Linked DNA regions of Homo sapiens: all the other regions are linked to region 1. The links are contacts of gene promoters, found by promoter capture Hi-C in blood cells and fetal thymus (Javierre and others, 2016). All regions are on one chromosome and are shown on one strand. The core of a region is centred on a gene start or on the middle of the fragment in contact, and the rest is flanking DNA. Distances in the headings are between cores, read along the strand shown.

What was found. The method cuts DNA at HindIII sites, captures the fragments that hold promoters and counts their contacts. A CHiCAGO score of 5 or more calls a contact.
Region 2: a contact is called between the fragment with the promoter of TSC22D1 here and the fragment with the promoter of LRRC63 in region 1, in 1 of 17 cell types (total CD8 T cells). The highest score is 6.5, in total CD8 T cells.
Region 3: a contact is called between the fragment with the promoter of GTF2F2 here and the fragment with the promoter of LRRC63 in region 1, in 1 of 17 cell types (naive CD8 T cells). The highest score is 10.1, in naive CD8 T cells.

Annotation. Positions count from the first base shown.
Region 1 is chr13:46,210,487-46,213,294 of GRCh38, forward strand. It overlaps LRRC63 (leucine rich repeat containing 63), which reads left to right and starts at 1,442. Exons shown (of 10, transcript NM_001282460.2): 1 at 1,442-1,773; 2 at 2,516-2,633. The coding sequence starts at 2,549. It overlaps LOC107984578 (a long non-coding RNA gene), which reads right to left and starts at 1,366. Exons shown (of 4, transcript XR_001749863.3): 1 at 1-1,366. RefSeq lists a silencer at 1,198-1,527. The HindIII fragment of the contact is 5,320 bases long and covers 1-2,808 here.
Region 2 is chr13:44,574,979-44,577,786 of GRCh38, forward strand. It overlaps TSC22D1 (TSC22 domain family member 1), which reads right to left and starts at 1,352. Exons shown (of 3, transcript NM_183422.4): 1 at 1-1,352. The coding sequence starts at 1,096. It overlaps TSC22D1-AS1 (TSC22D1 antisense RNA 1), which reads left to right and starts at 918. Exons shown (of 3, transcript NR_038381.1): 1 at 918-1,292; 2 at 2,064-2,199. RefSeq lists an enhancer at 825-1,064 and silencers at 1,385-2,094, 2,105-2,344, 2,615-2,808. The HindIII fragment of the contact is 6,017 bases long and covers 1-2,808 here.
Region 3 is chr13:45,119,145-45,121,952 of GRCh38, forward strand. GTF2F2 (general transcription factor IIF subunit 2) reads left to right here and starts at 1,366. Exons shown (of 8, transcript NM_004128.3): 1 at 1,366-1,577. The coding sequence starts at 1,512. RefSeq lists enhancers at 996-1,639, 1,400-1,529, 1,640-2,281. The HindIII fragment of the contact is 3,497 bases long and covers 1-2,795 here.

The sequences.
Region 1 (2,808 bases), core at 192-2,691:
ATACTTGCTAGAAGAAATCTGCAAGGAATGATACCTGGATGCCTGCGGATTCCAAGTGTGACAAAGCATTTTTTGAAAAAGCATTCAGAAGCCTTGCTTTCGACTACACAAAGCTAAGCATAAATTTTAAAGGCCAAACGTCAGTCAGTAAAACTGAATTCCTGTAGTTCTCATGGTTCCAACGATCTTGAAGAGCATAGGTACCTGACTCAATTTACACTGTCATTTTTTATGCTTAAAAATATAAACCTTTTTTCACATTTACAAAATATGCACGATATATATTACTTGAGACTAATCTTAGCCACAGAGCTGCCTTTTATTTTCAGCTTTGTATTTCTGAGAAACTAATGAATCTATGGTGTAGATAACAGCAAAAGTGGAAATAAATTCATAGTCTGGGGCAGCAGTATAATTGGGACACAGTAAACTTACAAGGAAAAGAAACAGTACACTACTACTGTAAAGGAAAACAAGTTGCATAATATTTTCCAGAGTCTGATTACTTTTTTGTTAAAACTTTTCTACTTTTTTCATTGATTGTTTTAAAACATGTTTGCTACTAAGGAGAAAAAGGAAGACATGGTTATGGTGTGAATCTTGAAAGATCCCCAAAGCTAGAAAGATTTATACAGAAGTCTCTCATTTTCCAACTTCTGTTATAAAGTTCCTGCGCTAGTACTTAGAAAAAACCAAACCTGGAAGGAAGCTCTACCTAGTTTACTTTCTGAGTTCGGATTTCCGCATCTATCAGATGAGCTCTTTCTAGTGCTCTTTCCCCCTCAAATCTCCAGAGAAACACGCACATTTTTGCAAACACACACGATGTATCTATGACTGCACACACAGGTTCATCAACACCATGACAGAGGCGACACGTCACAATATGATAACCAGAACAGAGGACGATGACAGTGAGAAATGGGTTTCTTTTATGGCCCGCTTGGATCCCTAATGCCCTTATTTCTACACAATCCAGCCTCAGCCAGGAACTTTAAAGGATCAGAAAGAGAAAACAGGTTGCATGAAAGGAAGAGAAAGAAAACCGAATGCCCGCTTTTCGAGAGCACTGCAAAATTAGCCCCGGGACCCGGCTGCACAAAAGTGCAGCCTTAAAGAATGCCAGCCCATATTCTAGACACCCAAGTAAAGCATCCTGTAATCGAGAGAAAATAATAAATAATAGTGGTCATTGCCATTAAGCATAAAAATAGTAATAACAATTGTCACCACGGCGTTCCGTACAGCAGCTGCGCGTGGAGCCGGCTTCTCCTCCGGCCCCCACGGCCCGCAGCTTCCCCTGCAGCCCCACAGTGCGTCGGAGGAAGGCGAGGGCTCCGCGCGCGCTGCACCGTGGGCTGGGCCTGCCCCTCCCGGCGCCCGCCTCGCCTCGCCTGTCCCGCGCCCGCCTCGCCTGTCCCGCCCCCGCGCCTGCGCGTCAAGTGGCTGGGCTGGCTTAGCGGACCCCGGTTGCTAGGGTGTGTCTCCTTGGCCTCCTAGAGGGTGGGGATCCGTGGTGCTTCTTCGGGAACAGCCTCCTGCAGGAAGACCCTCGCTGGACCTTTACCTCGCTGCCTAGATTCCGAGGAAAAGGAGATAGGAGACGAAAAGCCAGTTGGTTTGGAAAGCGGCCGATTATCCTAAAGGGTAGTGTGGGAGTCCAGCACTTCCATGCCCCTCTTTGGGTACTACGGAAGGGAGATTTCCAGCATCGTGTGGAACATATGACCAGGGAGTACACCTTGAGCGCTTGTGTGCAGTTATCTTTTGGCGGTAAACGGCCCATTTGTGCAGTTTCAGGGTGTTCCCTTCTAGGCTATCAATGGAATAATGCCGTGCCAGGCACTTTTGATGTTGCCCTGCAAACTAAAAGCACATTTTGGGGGTGCATCTTCTCGCATTATTTCTAAACAGTATGAGTTGGGATCCAGCAGCCCTGGGAAATCTCATTATAGTGAAACCCATCTTATTTTAGGATTGAATTGTTTTGGCCCAAGCATAGTGGTTGAAAAACAAGCCATTATAGAAAGAAAACAATTTGTTTGTGAATGGTTAGATATGGTGGGTCTTCAGAGGCTTATCTAATGAAGGCATCTTCTACACATTTCTGACCAAATTCTCTTTCTACATTTATAGCGATAACATTTTGGAGAGAGAGAAAAAAAATGTCATTTCGACTATTCTGAAAAATCAGTATTTACTAGTTGAAATAGCATTGGCAAATTGAACTTTGTACTAACATGGAAAATTGTAGAATGATCCTGGGTAGTAATAATACACATATTTTTAAAATTCTATGTTTACTTATAACCCTACATTTTAACTGGATTCTTTCTATTAATAGAAGTTTTAAAGAATTATTTTCTTACCCTCTTTTTTTTTCATAAAGGAATTCTGCCTGGATTCAGTAGAGTATTGGTACAGAATGATTTTCTTTAAGATGTAATCTAAATTCTTATTATTTTTCAACAATTCAAACATATTCAAAACCTTTTCAATTCTCATTTAAACCAAGGATTATGAAAAACAGCACTTATTATTCATTAAAATGCAAAAGCCCCCACTGCTTCTTCGAAGACCCTTACCTCCAAAATTCACTAAGCTGTCTTTACATGAGAAAAAAACCCATACAGGTATGTGTATTAATCAGATATGTGTATTAACATTTATGTATCTTTCATAGAAATTCCTTGACTTGCACAGCTCAGAATCACAATAAATACACTCACTAATAACTTACAAATGTTTGTTGTCAGGTGATAACATCCAATTCAATTCCACAGATGCATTTACTGATACTTATTGGTG
Region 2 (2,808 bases), core at 102-2,601, 1.6 Mb before region 1:
CACTCAAGATATTCACATTAACACCACTGGTAACTCCAGGCCCAACACTCACACCAGCAGCACTAGGAATATTGCTTGTACTTATATTAACATTACCAAGCATGCTGCTTGTCACATTAGGATTAAAACTACCCACAGCAGTAATGTTAACATTATTTACTGTACTAGTGCCAGTAACAGAATTTATACCTATTCCACCTGTAGTACTTGGAGCACGCATATTAGTCATTACAGATGCAGGTGAACCACTGGATGATACAGCAGAAGTTGGTGCAACTGGTGTGATACTGTCAGAGCTTCCAGTTGTAGAGAGTTTTCTAGATACTGGGCTTGAGGGTGGCCCACCAGTAATGGATGCACTGGCCACAGCAACATGAGATGGATGGTGGTGACCATGTTGGAGGTGGTGCCCATGATGAATCTGATGGTGGTGATGGAGGTGGTGTGGATGAGCATTCCCATTGATCACAACATTCTGTTGTGGAAGGTGAGGCAAATGAGGCTGAGGAAGGTGGGGCTGGTTGGGAGAGACTGCCCCAGGTGTCTCGGCTTCCTGGAAGTTATTTAGGGTCTCTTCTGAGGAGCTGCGTTCGGGCTCCCCTAAGTCAGTAGCCCTGGAAAGTGACACATCAAGGATCTCCGAAGAAGAGAGATCTTCCGTGTGAGATTCATCCAGATCATCATAGCTCTCAGTGTCCTCTGCTATACTGTTGTTAGAGCTGATACTAGCGGAGATCTGAGCAGGAGTAACGCTAGTTATCTGGAAGCCACTTTTCTTTTTCATTTGAGTTCCGCCTGGCGCAAGAGGCTGTGCCTGCAGCTGAGCCTGCGAAAGGAGGTTCAGGCTTTGTGGAGGCGGAGGCTGTGGTCCCGACGTAGAAGATGCTGCAGGGGGCGGCGGCTGAAGCAGCGACGGAGGCGGAAAATCCTCGGAAGATGTGGCATTACTACCGACGCCGGTACCTGCTGCATTGAGAGCAGAGGCGCTGCCACTACCGCTGCCCCTTCGAGGGAACATTGCCGGGTGCGCCATCTTCCTAGCGCTAATGTCTGCAGCGGCGGCGGCCGCGGCGGTGGACTCAGGCGGCTGGTGCATTGTGTTGGGTACCGGGGGCGCGGAGGAGACGAGTGCAATTTCCTTCTGCACCGTAATCTTTGTATTGGAGACGCCGGAGAGGAAAACGGGACCTGACGCTCCGCCTGGCGCGATTCCTCCTTCTCCTCCTCCTCAGCCAAAGGCGCCGGTCGCTCCTGCCTTCGAGAGCGAGCTTCGGAAAGGAGGATGAACGAGGGTGAACAGGGCGGCCGGGGACCCGAAGGGGGGATCCCTTCAGTCCTTCGCCATTCACTTTCCCCTCTAGCCTCACACCCCCCTTTATATTCTGCTTCACGTGGGGTGCGGGGCAGGAGGGAGGGGGAGAGCGCAGGAAGGGGAGGAAAAGCGAGAAATGCCCACCTTCTCCGGCCAACTCCGAAGCCGCCTCAGCCCCCTCCTCCCGCCGCGTCGGCGGCCGCTGCAAAGCCCTCCCGGCCGCTCTGCACGGAGGCAGCGCCAAGCAAATGTCGCCTTCCCCTCGCCACCCCCGGGGCCGCCGCCGCCGCCAGCGAGCCCCGAGCTCAGTGTCGCTCAAACCTCCCCTCCCGGCCCCGCTCGGCCCTCCCCCCGCGCCCCGCAGACCCTTTCAAACCCCCTGGGCTCGCGGCGGCTGCTCGGTGAGGAAACGCTGGCCGCGGCTGGGGCCGGGGCGACGCGGCTGCGAGCGGGGCGGCGGCGAGGCGCCCGGTACGGTGAGCCCAGCAACGAGGCGCGGGCGGGCGCGCAGAGACGCCGGGTCCTCGCGGAGCACGGCCGGGGCGCGGCGGCGGCGGTGGCAGCGGGAGCCCAGGGACCGCTCCATCACTGGCAGCCATGGAGCCCGAGCATTTTCCTCCCTCAGGGCAGGCGCCTCGACTCGGCACACGTCCTCGGGGAGGAAGGGGCCGGCACCCGAGCCTCTCCGGAGGGCGGCGGGACGTGCGCTAGGGCGGAGGGTGCGACCCTCTCTTATCCTCTTCCTCCGCAGCCGGCTCTTCCTCACCCCGCTGCTCCCGCGACCGGGCGGGAGAGGGCCGCAGGCGGCGGCGGCTCCTTTCTCCGCGGCGTTGGTGGCCAGACGGGCTGGTGCAGCGACTGCAGCCGACGCCGTTCAAAGGAACGAGGTGGGGTTGGTCGGTGTCGGCAAACGGGGCGGGGGAGTGAGTGGGTGCCGAGGGAGGGTGTCGGGCGGGGAGGGGGCTGTGGTGGTTGTTACTAGTGCTCTTCTTCGGCTCCCCCGGCTCCACCGTATCCCCCAGTCTCTCGCGGCATCGGGAGGGGAGGGACCAGCGCGGAGCGCAGGAGGAGGAGGGGCGACCGCCGGCGAGAGGAGGCGGTGGTGGCTGGGGGGAGGGGGCAGGCGGAGGAGGAGGAGGGAAGATGGCGTCTGCGCATGCGCCTCGGCGCCGCAGACATAAAGCCGGGTCTGGCGGGGCAGGAGGCGGCGGGTCTTCGGGCCTAGGCGAGCGCCAGGTCTCCCGACGGAAATTACCGAAGGCTGGCAGAGGCGCCGAAGCCGGGAGTGGTGGAGCCGGAGGGGATAGTGGGGGTGGGGAATTCCGGCCGAAGGAGCGAATCCGGGTCGGACTGCGTGATTCGGCCCGGTGGGGGCGGGCAGGGTGCGCGCCTGCCGCGCGCCCAGGTTAGGTGTGTCCGCTCTTTTCACACTCGCGGCCGGCGCGCGCGGGCACGCGGCAGAGGAGGGGGCGCGGCGCGGAAGGGCCGGCGGAGGC
Region 3 (2,808 bases), core at 116-2,615, 1.1 Mb before region 1:
AAAGTTAGGGTTACAGGGTTGAGCCACTGAGCCTAGCCTGAAACTTTCATCTTCAACACACTCCTGGTCTCTCCCATCTTTCCTATTAGTTTTCCTAGCTAAAAGCAGAGTTCTGACAGCTTTTCCTGGCCCTATGCTGAACACACATAAAATTTCCTCAATTTTGTGCAAGGCTCTGATGTGTGATTCAATAAATTACTTGCCATTCTTAACAATACCTTACTGTTTGTTTCTCTTCAGCGAATGTTCTTTCACCCAAAGCCTACTGAAACCTGACAATGTGTTAAACACTGTGCTAGACATTGTGGATATAAAATGAATAAAGCACTATTTTTTATTTGTCAATTATACCTCAATAAAGCTCTTTCCGCCTAGGAGGAGTTCATTGTCTGGAAAGCAAAGGCAGATATGTAAACATATATATTATAGTTCAGAGTGCTAAGTATCACACTGTGATGTGAAGAAAAACTAATTTCTTCTGGGGAAGTTGATAAAAGATCTCATAGGAAGTGACATTTTCATTGGTCTTGAACCATAAGTAGGAGTTTGCCAACCAGAGCACAGGGGTGAGAGTGAGGGCAGGGGTAAAATAGGGCTTCCAAGGGAAGGGAATCCAGTGTGCAGAGGCTCTGAAATGACCGACGAAGATTCTGACGTGTTTAGGGAAGTCTGCTGGGTTTGATGTGGTTTGGTGCATGGCGGAGTGATGGTGGGAGGTGCAAAGAGATGAAATTGAGAGGGCCCAGTTGAAGCAGGAGGATTGAACTTTATTCTAGAGGCAATAAGAGAAAGAGAAAACTGTTTAAGCAGGGGAGGAAACGATCAGGTTTGTCTCTTACTTGTTCGTTTCGTTACAGACTTCCGGGTTTTGGAAACTGAGGTGCTCCGCTTGCTTCATCAGAACAGCTCGGGTAGCCTCTGAGCTGAAACACGGCTTTTTTTTTTCCAGGTCTAGAAACGGCATGTTTTCAATATACCCAAGGCTACTAAGTTTGATCCCAGTGCCCATTTGTGCTAATGACGTTGGCCAGGGACGCCAATTTACTACCCTGACCCTGTCCTTCAAATATTGTCTCTCTCTCCTTGGCTAGGGTTGGACATGTTCTGACACCTTTCGTCTCTTTGAACCCCATTTTTCCGTTCTGATAATCTTTTTCTTCAGTTATGCTGACCATGTCTTTAAATACATTGCTAACGTTTTAGCTCATCCCACCCTACGTTTTAATCCCTCAGATGCAGACATCGCGGACAGCCACGCCCACTCAAGAAATTTCCGAAACAGAAAGTTTGTCTGCAACAGCGCGCCGTACTGACGTAGCAGTGCGCAGGCGCAGTCCCGGCTCCTGGCGGCGTGTTCCTCTTTTCCTCGGTTCCCAGTGTTCTGGCAGGTAAGGAACGCCGGCTCTTCGCCTCTCAGCGCGGCTTGTCCTTTGTTCCGGACGCCCGCTCCTCAGCCCTGCGGCTCCTGGGGTCGCTGCTGCATCCCGCACGCCTCCACCGGCTGCAGACCCATGGCCGAGCGCGGGGAACTCGACTTGACCGGCGCCAAACAGAACACAGGAGTGTGGCTAGTCAAGGTAATGTTCGCGAGTCTCCCACTTGCGCTCCTCCTAACACAAGTATAGTTTAAGTAACTTGAGCCTATCCCGCTCCGTGCGCCTCTTAAAGTTCTTTTACGGCTATCTCGTTAGAGCTTCACACATTTTGAGAGGCAGGAGTCATTGTTGTATCTGTTTGCAGACGAGGAATTAGTTTAGGGACGCAAAGTGTCTTTCAGCCAGTTACTACTCTGAATCTGCCTGGACTAGATCTCTTTCTCACGGCTTTCCTGGAATCTTGTCTTGGTGTCCCCAGATTTGGACGGTGCATTTTATCCCAGACTGAAGAATTCCTTGTATCTTCCCTTGGTGAAACTGGTTTTAGCCATGAGCCTGCGTGAGGTAGTTGAATGTCTACTTTCTGTACAGTTTTCTCGGCCAGAAAGTAGGACTGGTCCCTGCCTACTCTTAAAAGTGTTCTCTTAGGTTGATGGTCCTTAATGAAGCTCTCAAAAGAGGCGAGAGAGCCCCAAACTCACAGAAGGAGAGGTCATTGGACTGGAGTATTCTTTTAGAGCACATTTGGGTCTCGTGAAACTGGCCGTCAATAAACGTTTTATGTGAAGACAGCAATTTTGGTTAGCTCACAGTAAGCACTATTTGTGCTTTATTGTTTCATATTGGGGAGTGTTTTCTCCTAGGGGAGTTTCATAATACTTAAGCATATTCAAAATGTGATCCTGAAAGTCGTTGAAACTTAAAATGTAAGGACTTTTGGTTTCTTAATGCTTTAACTGTTTTATCACATGGCTGAGTTCTCGTCAATTAAATCTAAGAGGTCTTTCTTGTCGGCCTTCCTAAAACAGCCCCCTTGTGATCATTTGCTAACACGACAGATGTGTATTACATTCTTCAAAGCACTTTTCACAGTGTAGAGTGATTTTGTGTTCATATGTTCAAAGTTGGTTACCTCTGTCTTTCCAACACACAGAATCACATTCCATGAGAACAGGATCTTTGCCTGTCATACCCAGAATAGTGTTTGGCGCATGGTAATTACTCAACAAATAGATGATGAATAAATGCATGACCTCTCATTCTTCAGCCCTCGCCTTAGTCTGTGGCACTCATTTGACTTATTTCCAAACTCAGTGTGACTTAAAAGGATGGATTAAATAGGCATTTCTCTCTCCAGCAGCATGTTACTTGGGGGGAGAGTCACTAAGGAGGAGATTGCCCTTACGGACTGAAGGAAAAAGCTTGAAAAAAT